Regions from separate parts of the Homo sapiens genome. Here all the other regions are linked to region 1. Evidence: promoter capture Hi-C in 16 types of primary human blood cells and fetal thymus (Javierre and others, 2016). All regions are on one chromosome and are shown on one strand. The core of a region is centred on a gene start or on the middle of the fragment in contact, and the rest is flanking DNA. Distances in the headings are between cores, read along the strand shown. Region 1 holds the start of CACNG3 (calcium voltage-gated channel auxiliary subunit gamma 3). Region 2 overlaps ERN2 (endoplasmic reticulum to nucleus signaling 2). Region 3 holds the start of PLK1 (polo like kinase 1).

The links. The method cuts DNA at HindIII sites, captures the fragments that hold promoters and counts their contacts. A CHiCAGO score of 5 or more calls a contact.
Region 2: a contact is called between a fragment that was not itself captured here and the fragment with the promoter of CACNG3 in region 1, in 1 of 17 cell types (total B cells). The highest score is 5.1, in total B cells.
Region 3: the fragment with the promoter of PLK1 here is called in contact with the fragment with the promoter of CACNG3 in region 1 in 9 of 17 cell types (naive CD8 T cells, total B cells, megakaryocytes and 6 more); the score reaches 11.3 in naive CD8 T cells.

The regions. Positions count from the first base shown.
Region 1 is chr16:24,253,874-24,258,036 of GRCh38, forward strand. It overlaps CACNG3 (calcium voltage-gated channel auxiliary subunit gamma 3), which reads left to right and starts at 2,462. Exons shown (of 4, transcript NM_006539.4): 1 at 2,462-3,092. The coding sequence starts at 2,882. RefSeq lists an enhancer at 2,210-2,937. The HindIII fragment of the contact is 7,529 bases long and covers 1-3,295 here.
Region 2 is chr16:23,702,784-23,706,711 of GRCh38, forward strand. It overlaps ERN2 (endoplasmic reticulum to nucleus signaling 2), which reads right to left. Exons shown (of 22, transcript NM_033266.4): 7 at 3,547-3,648; 8 at 2,100-2,364. Among named protein-coding and RNA genes, the nearest start is that of ERN2, 8.5 kb to the right of the region's middle. RefSeq lists an enhancer at 2,199-2,699. The HindIII fragment of the contact is 623 bases long and covers 1,044-1,666 here.
Region 3 is chr16:23,676,543-23,680,717 of GRCh38, forward strand. PLK1 (polo like kinase 1) reads left to right here and starts at 2,347. Exons shown (of 10, transcript NM_005030.6): 1 at 2,347-2,798; 2 at 3,542-3,710. The coding sequence starts at 2,391. DCTN5 (dynactin subunit 5) reads left to right here. Exons shown (of 6, transcript NM_032486.4): 6 at 1-930. The HindIII fragment of the contact is 1,938 bases long and covers 2,013-3,950 here.

The sequences.
Region 1 (4,163 bases), core at 1,212-3,711:
AAGAAGACCTTTCTCACTTCTATCCAAGCAAGAGAAGAATCAAACAGATCCTGAAATGACTGCTTTGATCATTAGTAATTATTTCATCTTATTTACCTTTCTGAGAGTGGGGAGAGAAATTTTTGCTAACTGAATTAATCCCTCCCAAGAAATACCAACCTCACCTCCATGTTACATATGGCTTTCCCTTAAAAAAGAAAGGTAATAACAATCAAGGCAGGATATTTTTATTAAGATGCAAATTTTCATTTCAGGAAAGAAAATGACACTAAGAAACTTGTAGGGGCCCTCGTGTATCCTCTCCCTACTATCTTCTGTCATTCTTCTGGAGTACGGCTGTGGTGCTGGCCCCAAGTTTATCCATTCCATTGTGGATTATGTGGCAAGATTTCAGTATTTCTACCTCCTGTCCATAAATCAGTGTTTTTGAACCACGACACATGCATATGCAACTAAATGCTCATAGGTATACACACCTACATATTCAAATCTATACTATACCTACACACGTGCATGCATACACATACATGTGCAAATATGTATGCATATGCATAGCAAAAATGCTAGGCATTTGCAGCAAATATGTTCACATGGTCCATAACACTGTCTGCAGGTACAAACATACATTTACATACTTGCTTTACTTCTATGACGGATTCACAGGCATTCAGAATTTATAACTAAACTGAACATAGCACAGGTGAGCATTCAAACACAATCACTCCACAGCTATATATTCAAACTTCCTCCTGCACATGAGTATTTATCTAACACCAAGAATAAAGTCTTCAGTCTTAACACCAAAATGAAAGTAGCAAAGTCACCAAGAAGTTGTGAGCTGCATTTGCGAACCCTTCAATATATTCCTGCTACCCAGTCACCTGAATAGAAGTTCCCAGGCAGCCAGAGATGGCACCAGGGGAGTATGTTTGTCTGCGATTACCTCCCGTTATATTTCTGTCCAGCTAAATAACATTCAAACATGACAGTTGGTTGCGGACACATCTCAGGAACTGTGGAAACAACCCAAGCAACCTCATTTCCAACTATCTGACCTCTGGATATCAGTCCCAGGATGCCATAAGAAAAAAAATAATAAGGGCATTTCTGTGGGCTGTTTCTAGTCAACTCGGTGTGTGCCCATGCATATGCCGGAATACATAGTAATAAAAAGCTGGTTAAATGCTGGTCCTTTGCAATACTGGCTATTTCCAAGGAAGAGAGCTTTCAGGTGTGCAATGCCATTTGCCCTTTGGACTAACAAGCAAAGCAGACCTAACTTCACCTGCTTCATGGTCTCACTTAGATAACAATGTTAACAAATGATATCTCAGAGACCTTTGAACAAAATCTGACATTTTCAGTGACTCTCCCACCATGAATCCATCACCCCCTTCGATGTAGATATGTTAAAATGTATAAAAGGCATATTCAAAGGCCAAAATCTTATAGTCTTTTGCCCAAGGTCCCTAATATGTGTATGACAGAGTCTATGTATATTTAGCTTCTTCCATCTTTTAGGAATACATGATCATGTATATATGAACAGTTCCGGGTCTGATCTGAGCGGGTTGTCTTCGGTGTAAACCAGAGCTCCAGAGAAAGGAGGGTAGACATATTGGTTTGTTTGCTGGGGAACCAAATTGAGACAGACTCTACACAGATGTGATTGTGACAACACTTTTTGCCCGCCTAAGCGAGCCATAGAGCCGTCTCCAGAGCTGCCGGTGCCTTTAAGAAGACTCGGTCTTTCGGGTCTTCTTTTTCCCCAATGGGCTCCAGTGGTGCCCGCAGCAAAAGGCAAACTTGCCTGGCTCATGGGGTGAAAGGGAGGATTGAAGAATGCCGCGTTGGGTGGGTGCTGAGGGAGCGCCAGAGTGCGCTACGGGCTTCGCTCCCCTTCCCCTTTCCTTAACCCTTCCTAGAGCGGAGGAACCGGGTCGTGCTGCAGCGCCCAGGAGCCAGGGCGCTGACTGTCCTCGGCTCCAGAAACTTTGCGCGGAGAGTGGGCTTGACTGGGCAGAGCCGAGCCGGCTGGCTGACCCGGGAAGGAACGGGGGAAGGGCGGGGTGAGGGAAGAAAGACCCTTTAGCACCCCGGGTTTCTAGCCCGGGCGGCGGTGTGCAGCTGCATGAGGGAGCTGTCCCTTCGGCACCACGGACCTTAAAGCCTAGGCGTTAAGACGACGGAGGCGGGGCAACAGGCGGGGAGCTGTCCCTTCAGCACCACGGACCTTGGCGCCCCCAGGGAAACCAGCCGGCCCCCGCCCCAGGACTCTGTCTTTTCTCCAGTTTGAGCGGGGGTGTCGGGAGCAGGCGGAGAGCTTTCCTGCGAGGCTGTGGAAGCAGTGAACACTCTTCTCAGCGGCTCGCCTCCCAGCAGTGCTATTTTTTGCCATCCGCCCTCACCCCCAGCACACGCGCTCGCACACACACGCACGCACGCACACACACACACACACACACTCACACAGAGACCTCTCTGGGTTTCTTTGCCTTGAGTCTCCCGGGGCTGTGAGAAGCCAGGCGCATCTCAAACCGAGCTGGCAGCTCCAGGCTCCGGAGCCATGCCCTGCACGGACCCTCGTCTTTACCACGCTCCTGAGGAATGAAAGGAACCCAGGGACCCTCAGAAGGCAGCAGTGATGCGGACCAACCCCCCGGAGCCTGCACCCTTCCGAGGGCCATAGGCGACCCAGGGAACTGGAGAGAGCTCCAGAAAGGAAATCCCAGCTTTCCCAAAGTCCCTGTGGATGCTGACAAAAGGAGACCTGAATTTTTGGAAGAGCCTGTACTAGGTTACCCGGCTGCAGAGTGATTTTCCCCTCCGGCACTGACTCTCCCCCTCCAACCCCCAGCCGTCCAGAGTACCATGAAGAATTATGAGGATGTGTGACAGAGGTATCCAGATGTTGATCACCACTGTAGGAGCCTTTGCCGCTTTTAGTTTAATGACCATTGCAGTGGGCACGGACTACTGGTTATATTCCAGAGGTGTGTGCAGGACTAAATCTACAAGTGATAATGAAACCAGCAGGAAGAATGAAGAAGTAATGACCCATTCGGGGCTGTGGAGGACCTGCTGCCTAGAAGGTATTTACAATTTCCTCTCAATAGCTCTGAATAATCCAGTTCTGATATTCTGGTGGGTGTTTGGAGGAGATGGAAATGGTGATAAGGAAAGAAGAGAAGTTCAAATTATTGCTGAGAATGTGCAGGTGCCCAGACTCTGTTAACAGCAAGACTGACGCCATGTGGGTTAAAGGGGTTGGGTCTTGTTGATTGTTTTTAGTATAAGCTTCATGAGATGAGATTTTTGTCACACTCTAGGCAGCTTCTGCAGTTTAGAAAAGTCTTCAAATCCAAAATCCCTAGGCATATTGTCAACTGCTTGGATCTCTGGCTTGAGATGGGGTCTTTAACCCTGCTTAAATTGGATTTCGAAGGGAGGGGGAGGGAAGGGAGGAGAAGGGACAAGAGGAAAGAAGTGAGGGGGGAGAGAGAGAGAGAGAGAGAGAGAGAGAGAGAGAGAGAGAGAGAGAGAGAGAGAGAGAGATCCTGACCCGGTCTGGCACATTCTGAGCTATTTCATTATTTCTCAACATAGACTTATCAGTTTCTCCTGAGTTTGCTCTAACTAGATATTGTCATGAACTTCCACTGCCAATCAGTAACAGGGTAACATATGTAAACCCCTACTCCCACCCACACCCTATGCACACATTTTAAGAAAAAATCCTTATTGATACATGTTTTATTAGTTTGGATCACAACAAAACTGAAGTCTTGGTATTTTGTATCCACCTGTCTTCATTCCTAAATCATTCCCAAACCCCTAAAAAGGTATTTCCATGACATTTACAAAAGACTGATTCTCCAAGAATTGCAGTTCGTCATTTCTAGTTCTAAAAATTAGGGAGTAGTTATAACTTATAATGAAGAAGAAAGAGCAATTTAAAAATATAAAGCCCTTTTGTAGCCTATCACACTATTAAACTTGCTTTCACCACACCAGAAGTCACTCTCAGCACCAGTAGGCAATGCTTGGATATCACTGGGAGTAAATAGAAAGATAAGGAAGAAAATCAAAGCTCTTTGGAGCCTATGTGCCTGAGGGAAGTCACTGGATTAGAGGGGCAGTAGGGGTTTTCTTAGGCTTCCGAG
Region 2 (3,928 bases), core at 105-2,604, 550 kb before region 1:
ATATTTCCCTCTCACATTGACTCAGCTTAGCCATGAGACTTGCTTTAATCAATTAGACAACAGCAAATGTGACATAAGTAGAGGCTTGAAAAGTGCTTGTGCCTTCAGGCTTCCTTATGCATTTTTCTTTAGACCCTGAGACCACCGTGGGAGAAAACCCAGGCTAGCCTGCTGGGGTGTGAGAGATCTCTTTAATCCCCCATAGGTCAAACAGTCCATCAACTATGAGATAGGTAAGTGAGGCCATCCTAGATTCTCCAGACTCAACCAAGCCATGAGCAGACTGCAGAAAAACAACCCACCCCAGCTGACCCACAGAATCTTGAAAAATAATAAACTGTTGTTTTTTAAGTTCTCTGTTTTGGGGCAATTTGTTATGCAGCTAAAGCTAGCTGATACATGTTCCATAGTCATGATTTCAAATCTATGTCTAACCCAGACCTCTTTCAAGAGCTCAATTTTCTAAATATAAACTCATTACATCGTCCTTTACTTCTTCCTCCTTCTTCTCCCCCACCTCCTCTAGTGTTCCCTGCCTCTGAAAATGACAGTACCCACGTGCTTCTAGAAACCTGAGCATGATCTTTGACTCCTTGCTCACAATCGTCAAACTCCCTAATCACCAAATTTTTACTAGTTCTTCCTTCTAATATATCTTACACTCCACCTATTTTCCTCTCTCTAGTTTCTGCTCTAGTATAAAGTATCTTCATTTCTTGCCTGAACAAATCAATATTCCATGAATGGTCCACTTCTTTCCATATACCATTCTAAGATATTCTTTCTAAAATGAAAATATGATTAAATCACTTCCTTCCTTAAAACTCTCCAGTGACTTTTTAACTTTAGGAGAAAATGTCCAAGCCCTTTAAATGATCCTACAAGATCTCTTCTTAGCTTATAATCTCAGGCTCTACTCCTTTCTCAGGTCTGTATTTCAGTCTTATTTAATTTTTTCCTGTTACCTGAATTCTATGCTCTCTCATCTCTCTCATTTCCTATTCATTTTTTAGGTTTCAGTTTAGATGTTCCTTCCTCTAGGAAGCTTTCCATGACTGCCTCCTGTCCCCAGTCTTGATGTGGGTACTCTTCCTATACATTCCCATGGCATCTTATACTACTTTCATCTCATCCTTTATCATATCAGGTTGCAATAGTCTCTTCACATATCTGTCTCTCCCATTAGACTCGGGTTCCTGAGGCAGGAACAATGGCTGGGTTATTTGCTATTGTACTCCCAGACTCTAGTGAGACTGGCACACAGTAAGTGCTCAATTAATATTTGCAGAATGAATTGAATGAATAGATGATCCCTGATTTTCCCAAGCTGTCTACTGGTTTATCAAGATGGGGACACTAAGGTATTAGATGCAATAATACCTTAAATAAGTTGTTAAATAAGGTAAGTTAAATAAGGTTGTTATTTAAAGTATTTAACAATCCATAAGGCACAGCACCTACCAACCAGAACAGGTTAAGACCTGGAGTCCCCCTCTGATATGGTTTGGCTGTGTCCCCACCAAAATCTCATCTTGAATTTCCATGGGTTGTGGTAGGGACCCGGTGGGAGGTAATTGAATCATGAGGTCTTTCCCATGCTGTTCTTGTGATAGTGAATAAGTCTCACAAGATCTGATGGTTTTATAAGGGGGAGTTTCCCTGCACAAGCTTCTCTCTTTGCCTGCCGCCATCCACGTAAGATGTGACTTGTTCCTGCTTGCTTTCTGCCATGATTGTGAGGCTTCCCCAGCCACGTGGAACTGAAAGTCCAATTAAACCTCTTTCTTTTGTAAATTGCCGAGTCTTGGGTATGTCTTTATCAGCAGCATGAAACAGACTAATACACCCTCCTAGGCCAGATCTTACCGTATGAGTTGCTGAACAGTGGGGGCTACCCAGGGGGTCCCGGGGACACTTGGAGGGCAGCAGAGGACACTGGTTATTTACCAACCAGTTGGGTAAGTAACCAATTTGAAATGTTTTGACCCCTGGTTCAGCGGTACTGGTGTGTCACAGCTGAACATCTCGCCTGGCCATCAGACCCAGGTTGCGACACTCCCAGATGGCTCCCTCCCTGGGCCCCAGGCACGAACACCTACAGCAGCTGGGTGTCCAAGGTAGAGAAGAGGGTGGCTGTGTCCCGGGGGCCTGAGGCAGGCAGTCGGATGTGGCCCCAGCGGAGGGCGAGGAAATGCAGAGTGTCTCGAGCCAGCGTGAGATGCGGCAGCTGGCGCAGGCCGTCCTGGTGCCAGGTGTAGACGCCCATCACAGGCACGCCCAGGTCCTGTGTCCACAGCACCGTCCCGCTTCCTGGGTCCACAGTGAGCAGCAGGCCCATCCCGCAGGACGCCAGGTGGCTCATGTCTGCCGAGAAAGGTGGCTGGGGAGATGTGGTTGGAAGCTCTCCTAAGAGGGTCCAAGGGTGTGCCCTCTGGGTGAGGGGTCAGTCTGGTGTGTGGAGATCACATGGAGGGTTATCTGGACATGAGAATGTTTGTTGGAGTTCATGGAGTCACTTTGAAAACGAGGCCATCAGTCAGGGTCATTCAAAGGTGACTCAGATGTGTGGGAGTCAGTTTGGGTCACTTAGGATGGTGGGGTATTGCTCATGGTCAACATATGGTCACCTGGGATGGATCAATCAGGGTGGCCTGGAGGCATTTGGGTCACTTGGGAGTCACTTACAGTGTGAGAGGGGTCAGTTGGGGCGAGTAGGTGACCTCACCTCTGCTGAGGTGACCTGTGTAGGGTCTCATGCAGAATGATGGAATCAGGGCTTGAGGGGGCCTTGGGGCACCTGTAAGGTCACTCAGGCAGTTGGGTATCAGTCATAATATCAAGGGGGTGGGCCAGGTGTGGTGGCTTATGCTCGTAATCCCAGCACTTTGGGAAGCCAAGACAGGAGGATTACTTAAGCCCAGGAGTTTGAGACCAGCCTGGGCAACATAGCAAGACCCCATCTCTACACAAAAATTAAAAGATGAGCCAGGCTTGGTGGTACACATCTGCAGTCCCAGCTATTCAGGAGGCTGAGGATAGGGGATCACTTCAGCCCAGGAGTTGGAGGCTACGGTAAGCTGTGATCACAGTACTGCACTCCAGCCTGGGTGACAGAGTGAGACCCCATCTCACAAAAAATGGTGGGGAGTGGTCGGGGTCACCTGGGGAGTCGGTCTATGGAAGAGGCTACTTAGGGTTAGCTTTCAGGGGTTATATATAGGGGTCAGTTAGGACACACAGAGATTGCTTAGGGGCTGTTTGGGGTCACTCTGGATGTGGGAAGTCATCCAGGGTTACCCGGTTGGGGCCACTTGGAGTATAGAAGAGTTAGGAGGTTGAGGGATTGGCCAGGGTTCAGGAGGGTCAGTCTGGGTGTTGAGGGAGTCACTTGGGGTCAGCCATCAGGGGTGTGCCATTTAGTATATGGGGTCCCTGGGGAGGTCAAGTGGGTCGAAATGTGGCTGGGAATTGGTCATGGATGCTGTTCAGGGTTCCCTGGGTTGGGGACCTTGCTCCAAGATGGGACCAGAGAAAGGTGGAACTCACATTTCCCAGGTGAGCCATCCATGGGGGGCGCTGAGTAGCGGCGGTAGGTGGTGTTCCAGCGCAGGGCTGGGGCTCTTGGGTCATGCATGGTGACCGTATACTCTGGGGATCCCAGAAGCAAGATTACCAGGAACGTCCATTTGATGCTCCCTCCAACCCCAGGGGCCATTTATCTTGCAGGAGTGGGGGTTTCCTGAGCACACAGCCTAGAGACCTGGAAGCCTGTGAACATCACAGTGGCAGAGACTGGAGCTGTCTTGTTTACAGCTCTATTCCTGGCTCCTAGTTCAGTGCTCTGTAGAATGTTTGTTGATGACTAACAGACTGACTGTCCTGAATTCAACTTGGTTAGCCACAGCTAGATCTCAGCAGAGCAAAAGGG
Region 3 (4,175 bases), core at 1,097-3,596, 580 kb before region 1:
CAAGACTCCATCTCAACAACAACAACAAAAAGGAATTAAGGAGGAAGCCACCTGGCTTCCTAAGATAGACTTTATGGTTAATGGGATTTATTTTAGCTGGTTAAGTCCAGGACCCCTACCAGGAAGAACTGAGGTCCATATTTGAGGTTGGTCTCACCCTTTTGCATGTGGTCCTACTAATAATAATTTTGCTGTAAAGAAGCCTCAATAAGGAGATGGACTGTGTGAAAAGAGATGAGAAAGCAGGCCTGTTTGCAAGGCTGGCCCTTGGCTGGCATCTGAAAGCTTGGATTTCAGGAGGGTTCTCATTACTCCCTAAATGATAAGAGTGGCTCACTGTGCCTAAACTGTTCGTACAAACAATGTGGGTTATGCCCAACATCTGCTTTCCTTCTGGGAGTCAGATTTTCATATGTGTTAGGCAGAGGATGAGGTGAGCAGCTCCCAATGAGAACCCTGAACACTGAGTCTGTAATGAGCTTCCCTTGTATACAACATTGCACATGGGTTGTCACAACTGATTGCTGGAGGAATTGTGTCCTATGTGACTCTGCTGGGAGAGGACTGTGGGAGGCTTACACCTGGTTTCCCTGGACTTTGTCCATGCGCTTTTTTCCTTTGCTGATTTTGCTTCCTAGCCTTTCGCTGTAGTAAAACATAGCCATGAGTATGACTACAGGCTGAGTCTGTGAATCTCCTAGTACATCATCAGACTAGGAGGTGGTGGTGTTGGCACCCCCCAGCACAGGGCACAAGGGAGACTTGCAGGGTGTTTGTCATGTTCCCTTTCTCAATCTGGGTGTGGTTTACAGATTTGTTCAGTTTGTGAAAATTCACTGAGCTCTATGAACAATTATAATATGTACATTTTTTTCTGTAAGTGTATTAAATTTCAATAAAAAGAATTCACACTATAGGGGTACAAAATAACTTAATTTTTCAAAGTCTTCCTTTTATTCAGCCAACATTTTAGTAAGTACCCTTTTTTTTTTACCAAGCACTGCTCTGGGAGCTTGGGACATGGGGTAGAAAGGACGGCATCATTGTCCTCATTGTCCTTCAGCTTAGCTGCAAGGCAGGTGAAGGATGCTTATAGTATGGTTGATTTTTGCTGGGCTCTATGAAGGATCAGAGGGTGCTAAGGAGGCACAGAGAAAGAGCTTTTAACGTGGGTATTTTACTGTTCCAGGGTTGCCACTCAAGTACCTACAGAACAAACGGGTGTAGCTGTAAACTGTGGCAAACTGAAAGCATGTAGGCACAGAGTAAGTAGCTAGAGCTGATTTTTTTCAGGAAAGGCCACAAATCCCAACTTTTATGAGCTCCTCTTTTAAATGCTGTAAATGTTTTACAATGGCGGGGCGCGGTGGCTCACGCCTGTAATCCCAGCATTTGGGAGGCCGAGGGGCAGATCACTTGAGGTCAGGAGTTCAAGACCAGCCTGGCCAACATGGTGAAACCTCTTCTCTACTAAAATTACAAAAATTAGCCGGGCATGGTGGTGCATGCTTGTAATTCCAGCTGCTAGGGAGGCCGAGGCGGGAGGATTGCTTGAACCCGGGAAGCAGAGGTTGCAGTGAGCTGAGATCGTGCCACTGCACTCCAGCCTGGGCGACAGAGCAAGATTCCGTCACACACACAAAAAAAAGGCGTGGGGGGAGGCCAAACAAAACCCCGCAAGACACATTTGGCTATGACCTGCCAGTTTGCTAGGCATTCTTCCAACCTTCCCTCCCTCTGACCAAGAAACTGAGTGTCCACTATTTTAGGCCCTGGGAAATTCAGTAGCGAGGAGGCCAGACAGCTTCGTTGCATCATGGGGGGCTCTGGTACTGTGCTTCTCCAACTTCAGGATGTGTAGGAATCACCTGAGCAGTCTTGTTGAGAGGCGGACACTGACTCGGGAGGTCTGGGGTAGGGCCTGAACGTTTGCCTTTGCGGTTCTAACAAGCTCTCAGGTGATGGCGATGCTACTGTTCCCTGGCCCCGAGGTAGAGGAAGATTTAAGTAAAAGCTTCCTGGAGGAGGCGCAAGTGAACCGCAGGAGCTTTCCCGGACGCCCGAGAAAGGGAGAAACCCCGAAGGAATTCCTCCTCTCTCGGGGCTGGGTCTCCGCATCCACGCCGGGTTTGGTTTCCCAGGCTATCCCACGTGTTCGGGCGTCCGTGTCAATCAGGTTTTCCCCGGCTGGGTCCGGGTTTAAAGGCTGCTGCTGCGCAGGGCGCTCCCATGGTGCCGCGCGGCGGGCGGGTTTGGATTTTAAATCCCCGCGGCCAATCAGTGGCGCGCAGGCTTTTGTAACGTTCCCAGCGCCGCGTTTGAATTCGGGGAGGAGCGGAGCGGTGCGGAGGCTCTGCTCGGATCGAGGTCTGCAGCGCAGCTTCGGGAGCATGAGTGCTGCAGTGACTGCAGGGAAGCTGGCACGGGCACCGGCCGACCCTGGGAAAGCCGGGGTCCCCGGAGTTGCAGCTCCCGGAGCTCCGGCGGCGGCTCCACCGGCGAAAGAGATCCCGGAGGTCCTAGTGGACCCACGCAGCCGGCGGCGCTATGTGCGGGGCCGCTTTTTGGGCAAGGGCGGCTTTGCCAAGTGCTTCGAGATCTCGGACGCGGACACCAAGGAGGTGTTCGCGGGCAAGATTGTGCCTAAGTCTCTGCTGCTCAAGCCGCACCAGAGGGAGAAGATGTCCATGGAAATATCCATTCACCGCAGCCTCGCCCACCAGCACGTCGTAGGATTCCACGGCTTTTTCGAGGACAACGACTTCGTGTTCGTGGTGTTGGAGCTCTGCCGCCGGAGGGTGAGTGTCGCTGCTGGGGAACTGGAACTGCCTGCGGGGCAGTTGGAGCGCCCAGACCTGGAGCTGCTGGAAAGAGTACCCAGCAAGGGAGAGCCTGGGACTTGGAGCTGCTAGAGAAGGGTGCTGGGAGCCTCCCGCTTACGTATGGAAAGTGTCTTTGGTAAGGGCTTCTTGGCTCTGGGAGCTGCTAGAGGAGGGGGTTCCAGTGAAGTGGAGTCTGAGTCATGTTGCTGATAGGGAAGTCAGCTTCTGGACGCGAGGTGCTGGGGGGAGGGGTGCTGGTAATGGACGCTAGGGCCCTGGAGTACCCAGGGAGGAGTCCCAGGTTAGTGATGCCGCGCCCTGGGAGCTTCTGGGGTGGAGCTGGGTCAGTGGGGGGGTAGTTGGAGCCAGACTTCGGGCCTTCCGGGGGAGATACGAGTCAGGAAAGGGATCTGGTGCTGGGGACTCGGAGCTTCCGGAGTGGGGCTGAGAGAGGACCCCCAGGTAAGGGGGGAAGCTAGTAGGAGAAGGGGTGCTGCGAATGGTTGTGGACAGTGTTAAGGCAGGGTCCAGATGCCGCTGTGCTGGAGAAGGAATGGGGTGGGGGCATAGGGAAGGAGAGAAACCCACCAAGACCCCTCTTTCATCCCTTGGGAGTCCAGAGTCCAGTCCTGTGCTTCCTTTGCCTGGTAACCCTCTCCCTTCCCCACCGGCCTCAATCCACCTCCCCATCCCTCCTGCCCTCTCCTTCCCACCCACAGTCTCTCCTGGAGCTGCACAAGAGGAGGAAAGCCCTGACTGAGCCTGAGGCCCGATACTACCTACGGCAAATTGTGCTTGGCTGCCAGTACCTGCACCGAAACCGAGTTATTCATCGAGACCTCAAGCTGGGCAACCTTTTCCTGAATGAAGATCTGGAGGTGAAAATAGGTGAGTTGCTGAGCCTGCAGGGGTGCTTGACATCACTACAAGAGGCTGGAATTTGGAGGAGGCTGGGAGAAAGGAAGGAGACAACCCACAAGTCAGTATCTTGCCTACAGATGCATTATTTTTTTGTGCCCCAATGCAATATTTTTTTTTTACAAAGAATTTGAATTTGTTTTTATTTTTTAAATTGGAAGGTTTGATTGAACAAAAAGTTTGATTCAGAACTCCTTTTAAACAGGTGAAAGCTTCAGTAATACGAGGACAGCATTTTCTTAGGGCAGCCCTTTGCTGGGCTGGAAAACAGCTGTCCCCTTCAGACTTCTTTGCCACAGTCTCTACTCCTCCCTATTCTTCACAGACTTGCCAAGTCTTGGAGGTTAACTTGCTTGATCCTTGAAGGCATTGGAGTTTTACTATCCCTGTCAGTTCCTGTTTCAAAGCATAGCCCCTTTCTAAAAGGAGGGGTGA